Linked DNA regions of Homo sapiens: region 1 is linked to region 2. Evidence: promoter capture Hi-C in human tissues and cell types (Jung and others, 2019). All regions are on one chromosome and are shown on one strand. The core of a region is centred on a gene start or on the middle of the fragment in contact, and the rest is flanking DNA. Distances in the headings are between cores, read along the strand shown. Region 1 overlaps SFMBT1 (Scm like with four mbt domains 1). Region 2 holds the start of ITIH4 (inter-alpha-trypsin inhibitor heavy chain 4).

Region 1 (4,052 bases), core at 741-3,240, 200 kb before region 2:
CATCTCAGAATCCACAGGTCCAAAATAGAATTTCTCCTTCTACCCCAAAGACGCCAGTCCTCTAGTGGGCCTGTTTGCCCAGGTCTCTTTCTTTACATTGCTCCTCAGCGATGGTGTTTGTTTTGTCCACTGGGAGCTTTCCTGTGGGACTTGAGGTCTTATTCTTCAATTGCCAGCCTTGGAGTTAGAACGTACAGTTCTGACTCCTTGGTTTTCAAGTGTTTTTAAAGTTGTGGAACCCTTTGTTCAAATGAAATCTTTCTAGGAAGCCCGATAAGTAAAATAAAATGAGAGTCCTCCTAGTGGAGTAGGGGTGAAGGGCCAGCATCCTGTCCCACGGCAGGATAGCTGGACATTCTCTGCTTCCCTCTCCTCCCAGGCAGGACTGGCGGCTGGCTCTTGGGGCAGCCTTCCCAGTGGATTCTGCATAAATGGAGCTCCTCAGAGTTGCTGTCAGCACTGCTTTGAGGGCATGCTCTATGTTTTAAACCATTTTATCTATTCTGTACCCCACTTCCTTCCTTTGGAAATTTAAATTTTGATTGTGACTGATAAATGTAAAACTAGTGCCAGTGATGAACCTTGCCAAGGAAAAGGAAAGACACCTTGGAAAGTGAAACTAGATATTAAAAAGAGCTTCATCAAATGCTGAGACTGTCAAAAATGCTGAAGGGCTCCTTTCAAAATTTACTTACGTCTCTGGCCGGGTGCGGTTGCTCACGCCTGTAATCCCAGTATTTTGGGAGGCTGAGGTGGGCGGATCACTTGAGGCCAGGAGTTTGAGACCAGCCTGGCCAAAATAGTGAAACCCCATCAATTTTAATAAAAAATTAGCTGGGCGTGGTGACATGTGCCTGTAATCCCAGCTACTGGGGAGGCTGAGGCAGGAGAATCACTTGAACCTGGCAAGTGGGGGTTTCAGTGAGATGAGATGGCACCACTGCACTCCAGCCTGGGCAACAGAGTGAGACTCCATTTAAAAAAAATTTACTTAAGTCTCTGCTGACTCTTTTGAAAGTTGCTATTCTACCAACATGAACATTTTCAAGATAAACTTTGTTTAGTTTTACTGTTTTTGTTTTGTTCATTTATCAATGTAGTAGGCTTATTCAACCCATAAAACTAAAATGTTACATATTAGCAGTGAAAAATACAAACCTTGTTCTGTTGCTTCCAAATGGTCTCCCTACCTTCCCCACCTCTCCCATCCATCCAGCTACACTGAGGCCAAGTAGAGCTTTCTAAACAAACTTGATTTTAGTCACATAAAATCCCACATTTGGCCGGGTAAAGTCCAAACTCCTCAGGAAGGCATGCGGAATCCTTGAAGCACTGAGGCCAAGTAGAGCTTTCTAAACAAACTTGATTTTAGTCACATAAAATCCCACATTTGGCCGGGTAAAGTCCAAACTCCTCAGGAAGGCATGCGGAATCCTTGAAGCACTCAGGCCCAGTCCATTTGTCCAGCTTATTCCCTTCTCTCATGGCCTCTGCAGCCTCACCAACCCACTCTCCTGTAAATCCTTTCCTGCCATGTTCCATCCGCTTAGGGTGTTGTTCTGCTAAGGCAGTGCTCCCAAAATGTCAGTCTCACATGGACCGCTGTCACACTTTTTGGTATATTTGATTACCAAAATTATTATTATCATTATTTTGAGACAGAGTCTCGCTCTGTCGCCCAGACTGGAGTGCAGTGGCTCGATCTTGGCTCATTGCAGCCTCTGCCTCCAGGGTTCAAGCAGTTTTCCTGCCTCAGCCTCCCAAGTAGCTGGGATTACAGGCACGTGCCACCACGCCTGGCTAATTTTTTATATTTTTAGTAGCGATGGGGGTTTCTCCGTGTTGGCCAAGCTGGTCTCGAACTCGTGATCTCAAGTGATCTGCCCGCCTCAGCCTCCCAAAATGCTGGGTTTATAGGCATGAGCCACTATGCCTGGCCCACAATTATTCTTTTAATATGTTTTTAATTTTTATTTATTTTTTAAATTTATTTTTAATTAATTAATTTATTTATTTTTTGAAACAGACTGTTGTCACCCAGGCTGGAGTACAGTGGTGCGATCTTGGCTCACTGCAACCTCCGCCTCCTGGTTCAAGTGATTCTCCTGCCTCAGCCTCCTGAGCAACTGGGATTATAGACAGGCACGCACCACCACACCCAGCTAATTTTTGTATTTTTAGTAGAGATGGGATTTCACCATGTTGGTCAGGCTGGTCTCAAACTCCTGACCTCAAGTGATCTGCCCGCCTGGGCCTCCCACAGTGTTGGGATTATACGCATGAGCTACCATGCCCGTGCCAGTGATGAATCTTGCCAAGGAAAGATTCCTTAACTTAAATTTTATAAAGTATTATTACATTTTAAAAATGTCAAAATGCAATGCAAGTAATAAATCTAACCAGTTTATTAAAACACATTCCTTCAATAAAATTTCAACAAAGTCCTTTGTATTTAAAAAGAAGTACCTGATAATAGATGATATTAAGGAATTGTTGATTTTTTTTTTTTTTTTTTTTTTTTTGGAGACAGAGTTTTGCTCTTGTTGCCCAGGCTGGAGTGCAATGGCGCCATCTCGGCTCACCGCAACCTCCGCCTCCTGGGTTCAAGCAGTTCTCCTGCCTCAGCCTCCCAAGTAGCTGGGATTACAGGCATGCGCCACCACACCCCGCTAATTTTTTTATTTTTAGTAGAGACAGGGTTTCTCCATGTTGATCAGGCTGGTCTCGAGCTCCTGACCTCAGGTGACCCGCCTGCCTTGGCCTCTCAAACTGCTGGGATTACAGGCGTGAGCCACTGCGCCAGGGTGATTTTTTTTTTTTTTTTGTCTTTTTTGGTGTGATAATGGCATTGTAGTTATACATAAAGGAGAATGTGCTTATTCTTGGGAGATGCAAGCTGAAGAGTTTAGAGGGTGAGGTATGATATCCTCAGCATTTTCAGATGGCTCATAAAATACGTGTGTGTGTATAAATCTTTGTGTATATAGAAAGATAATTAGGAAATTTAAAATTTTTGAATCTAAGTAGAGAGTATTTGGAATTTTTTCAAAATCTCTTTCAAAATTTTGATAAAAGCTTGTAGTTGAGGGGGGTAAAAATGGCTGCAAAAAAAGTTAGTATTAAAAAAATGTTGGGCCGGGCGCGGCGGCTCACACCTGCAGTCCCAGCACTTTGGGAGGCCGAGGCGGGTGGATCACTTGAGGTCAGGCATTTGAGACCAGCCTGGCCAACATGGTGAAACCCCGTCTCTACTAAAAATACAAAAGTTAGCTGGGCGTGGTGATGTGTGCCTGTAATCCCAGCTACTTGGGAGGCTGAGGCAGGAGAATTGCCGGAACCTGGGAGGCGGAGACTGCAGTGAGCCGAGATTGCGCCACTGCACTCCAGCCTGGGCGACAGAGCAAGACTCCATCTCAAAAAAAAAAAAGCAAATTTTATTAAAAAATTTTGTAGAAGCAGGGTCTTGCTCTGTTGCCCAGGCTGGTCTCAAACTCCTGGCCTCAAACGATCCTCCTACCTCAGCTTCCCAGAGCACTGGGATTATAGGCATGAGCTCTTGCACCTGGCCCATAAATACTTCAAAAGGCAGAGTCTTTGGTAGGCCCCAAATTTTCTTGTATTCTATCAGAGGCTTAGGTGTGGGGGGAATGTTCTGCTAAAGAAATCCCTGTTTGTCCTTTAAGGCCCAGGGCTTCTGTGAAGCCTTCCCTCCTGGACTCCCTCAGGTTGCATTAACCACCCTTTGCTCTGGGCACTCACAGCATTCCACATATTCCACTGTTGTAAATATTACAATTGTGATTGTTTGTTCAGTGTTTCTCATCTCTACTAAACTGTGAACTCAAGGTCAGAGATGCTGTTTTATTCCTAGTTAGTACCTTGCACACAACCTAGCACAGAGTAGACACTAAATAAATTATAGCTGAATGAATGCATGGAAGCAATACTGCAACATATCCACTTATAATGTTATTCCTATTTGAAAATGTATTATGTTCTAAACAAGAAATGATTATGTTTAATGAGATCTCATCTTGTCATTTCCAGGCTTA
Region 2 (4,191 bases), core at 5-2,504:
TGGCACCTTTGCCCCAGGCCTGCCGCCACCTCTAATGGAGACAGGACTGGTGGAGAAACCCTCCCCAGCCTCTGGAAGCCACTGGCTGCCCCAAGGCCCCCGATAGGTTCCCAAGGCAGCTGGCCCCCTCAGGGCTGGTGTCACGGAGCCGCCGTCCTTCCCTGATCCAGGACTTGGCATCTGGCCACACTTTTATGACTCATCTTTACCCATCTGTGGCCACAGACTCAGGAGCTGGCTTCCCCAGAGCCACCAGGGAACACGAGCCCCAGCGGTGCCCAGAGCGCATAATATGTACTCACTCGATCCCACTTTACAAGGAGCAGAGCGCTTCAACTTTAGCAAGGCCGGGACCCACCCCAGGCCTTTGGGCAGCGCTCCCCTGGGTCTGGGCTGTGGCAGCATCACACTGCTCATGACAACAGCATTCTGCCCTCTCTCAACCAGCGATTCCTGGGCTCCCTCTGCTCCACCAAATGACTCCCCAGTCACCCCTCAGGAGCTGCTGGCACTGTCAGGTCTGTCTTCTGTTCCATGCTCTTCTGTCAATAAACTCCCCGCATGGAGACCTCTGTGCCACAGGATGTGGCAGGTTTATGACTCAGTTGTATTGCCATTCTTGTTTTGGGGGCCTTGCTGGGGTTGAACCTAAAGCCCTGGCTAGATTAATGGCACCCAAACAGCAACCTGGGACCCCAGGAGAGAGAAGGAGGCGCCCCGTGCCCAGCACCTCTCACTTCAGAAATACGGCGTATCTATCCTGACTCTAGATCTGCCCCACACAGACACCTCCCAGAGTCACTCCATGCCTTTGGGCCCTCCCATCAGCCAGACACACTTACCTGGTGGCCAAGCCCCCTTCTTCCGGGAAGCCGCTAGGGTAGCCCTGTAGCCCTAGTCTTCCCCACCATCCCCCGCTGTTTCTCCCCGGGCTGGACTTAGGGAGAGCAGACTGACATCTTCACTGTCAATTCCCTCCCAGCCCTGTGGAGCTTGGTGGAATGCCTGGTGTGAAGGGTCCTGGTGAAGGTTTCGCACTTTTCAGAAGGGGCATGTACCCCCACTCCAAACTGAGCCTACCTTTCTTTGGTATACATTCCTGCCCCCAGCCAAGGTCCATGGGACGTTCGTCATTTGCTTATCTGAGGTCACTGTGGTTTTTGGCTTGTAGATCCCAATTTCCCAGAACCTGCCCCCATGTGGGTGGGGCAGCAAACAAGTTACTAATCCATTCCCCACTTGCTGTCGAGTTCAGAAGCCTCCTGGCAGACACTGGAGCCACGATGAAGCCCCCAAGGCCTGTCCGTACCTGCAGCAAAGTTCTCGTCCTGCTTTCACTGCTGGCCATCCACCAGACTACTACTGCCGAAAAGGTAGCCAGTGTCCATGGGTGTGGCGTGAGCTGGGGGATGAGAGAACGCCTGGGAAGTGGGGAAGAGCCTCCGCATGTGCCAGCGTGTCAGCACAAGTGCGTGTGCATCCCTGTGTGTGCAAAAAAATGGTGCAGACCTCCCGCCAGGCACTACCCCAAGGGCCTTACTGGTATTCTCCCACCTAATAGAGGGGATGATCCAATCATTTCCATTTTCCAAATGAGGAAATACAGTTTTACAAGCCTGGCTCTACCGCCTTTTAGTAAGTGACCTCAGGAGAATGATTTATGCTGACTATGTCTCAATTTCCTCATCTGTAAAACAGGGTAATACTAGAACCTATTCAGAGGGTGGCGGTTGTGAAAACCAAACCCATTGTATCTATAAAGTGCTTAGGACAGTGCTTGTTGTGAAAACCAAACCCATTGTATCTATGAAGTGCTTAGGACAGTGCTTGTCGCAGAGCAAATACCCAAGCACATAAACAAGCCACTTGGCACCTCTGTGCCAAACTGCATTCAGGCAGCCGCATGCAGCCGAGCAGAGTTGGTGCAGTGCGCATGAGCATGTCACACACAAGCAGGTAAGAGGTGCCCGTGTGCCCCTCCTCGGGGGACACAGACCTCAAGGCAAATGGCACCTGCTAGGGGAGTGCCCTGCGGAAGTGGGGATGAGTTGGGGAGGGTCCACTGCGGAGCAGAGAGGAAGATTCCCAACTCTCAGAGACCAGACTCTAGTCTACCTCCGAATTCTCCCAGCTCTGAGGGCTTCCTTCTAGGAGACTGGTGGGAGCTTCCCTGTTGCCACAGAGGCCAAAGTCTCCAGAAATCAAAGGACCTGGTCACTGCCCTTTTTCTGGGCAAAGCTAAGCCAGCATGCAAAGCTCCCTGACCCCACCAGGTCTCTCACCCCTGCCCAAAGGCTGAGTGTGATGCCCCTCCCAGACACTGGCCCTGGCTTCACCAGCTCCACCCCCTGCATGCTTGTTCTTCTCCAAGGGGTGCTCTGGGCCCCTATAGATCAAGAAGGACGTGGCCCCTGCCCTGTGGTGCTGTAGGGTGGGGAATGAAGCACACTGCTATCTCTTACCTGAGACAAATGTTCACATATGAGATGCCTCACTGGGTTCAGCCTGAGGCCTGGTCAGTGGCTCAGTCAGATTGGGAGCCAGGGTTTGGTCTAGAGCCAGAGTCAGGGCCAACTCTTGAAGAGCGTCACCCCGAGCTGAGGTGGCATTGAAACCCTGCAACCCCCTTCTTCTTTGCTGGTCCAGAATGGCATCGACATCTACAGCCTCACCGTGGACTCCAGGGTCTCATCCCGATTTGCCCACACGGTCGTCACCAGCCGAGTGGTCAATAGGGCCAATACTGTGCAGGAGGCCACCTTCCAGATGGAGCTGCCCAAGAAAGCCTTCATCACCAACTTCTCCATGTAGGTGCCTTCCCACCCTCCTCCCCTCTCCACACCCCCCAGTGCTATGACTCCATCGCTCTGTGCCAGCAAACCCTCTTCTTGAAGTAAGGCATGCCAGGGTGTACATCTTCAGGAGTACACCCTGCACCTGGGGCCACACAGGAACAGGGGCTTGCCAAAGGACTTATTCTCAAAGATGCCCCCGTCCTTCCCTCCATCCAGCCATTCATCATCCCTAAGTGCTGTCCAGGTGTTAGGCAGAGAACCACAGAATCTTTGTGACTTTGCCTTTGAGGAGCACAGACTTGAGGCCTCCTGAGGCCAGACCAGGCAAGAGGGAGTCACCAAAATGCACATTCCAGCTCAAAGTACAGAAAACCTTCTAGACCCTTGGCTTCCTCACAGTGGAGAGTGGCTTGAGGAGGATTCTCCTAGGTCTGCCCCAGCTGGGATCCTGCAGAGGACATTTTTGCTCAGGCTGCGTGAGAGATGCCTGAGGTTTCTCTGAATTCTATGAGCCAAGGATGGTCCTCACTTTGTCCTCTGCCACCCTCCCCTACCCTTCCCAACTCAGTTTCCAATGTTTACTAAATGCACCAGGATGCCGCCTGTCCCTTGCTGCCAGGAAAAGCTGTGATTTAGGACAAGGGCAAGACTCTTCCCAGAAACAGGGCGATGGTGGGGCAGAGAGGGAGTGTCTCATGTGGGGTCCCACACTGTGGCCTCTGGAAAACTGCAGTGGGGGCTAGTCTCCTCCCTCAGGCGCCAAGCATCCCCCACTCCACCGCAGCCTCTACTTTTCCTAACCCAGAGCCCGGGCCTATGCTGCCCAGCTTGCAGTGCAAGCCCCACGGGCTGTGTCAGCCTTCGACATGGGTGCCAGGGTCAGCAGTTGCCAGGTCCAGGCCCGTGGCATCTGCTGAGAGCCCAAGACTGTCACTTGCCTTCTCTAGACCCAGAACCTGTTGCTGCATGAGTTAGGGGAGCAGAGAGCAGGTTCCCTGCTCCCTGACCTGGCCAGGAGCCCCAGCTGGCCATCTGGAGAGATGAAGCACTGCCTACCCAGGGGGAGGAGTGCCACTGCCCACTCACCAGCCCCATCCCGGGCTAGAGTTAAATTATAACCAGGAAGGTCAGGCAGGAGGGACGCGTAGTCCTGACATCCTGGCTGCTCCCCCTCCTGCCCACTGCCACACACTACCACATGAAGTTGACCAGGCACATCCCTACACACCCCACAAGGAGGCTCTGAAAAAGTCGTTTTCCTCCCTGAGAAATGGCCTGGGCCATTCTTTCTCAGCCCCCAAAGGATGGCTGCTAGGAGTGTGTCCACACACCCAGGAGTCCCGTCCACCAGTTGTCCAAAACCTCCTTCCAGATATGCCAGCCTCCCTATAGGGTG

What was found. The method cuts DNA at HindIII sites, captures the fragments that hold promoters and counts their contacts. A contact is called where the count stands out against the background at its distance.
Region 1: a contact is called between a fragment that was not itself captured here and the fragment with the promoter of ITIH4 in region 2, in 2 of the 25 tissues and cell types used here (spleen and thymus).

Annotation. Positions count from the first base shown.
Region 1 is chr3:53,032,542-53,036,593 of GRCh38, reverse strand. The region is part of intron 1 of SFMBT1 (Scm like with four mbt domains 1); the gene reads left to right. Among named protein-coding and RNA genes, the nearest start is that of SFMBT1, 12 kb to the left of the region's middle. The HindIII fragment of the contact is 7,750 bases long and covers 1-4,052 here.
Region 2 is chr3:52,827,735-52,831,925 of GRCh38, reverse strand. ITIH4 (inter-alpha-trypsin inhibitor heavy chain 4) reads left to right here and starts at 1,254. Exons shown (of 24, transcript NM_002218.5): 1 at 1,254-1,373; 2 at 2,647-2,807. The coding sequence starts at 1,284. RefSeq lists enhancers at 3,294-3,901, 3,902-4,191. The HindIII fragment of the contact is 7,752 bases long and covers 1-3,255 here.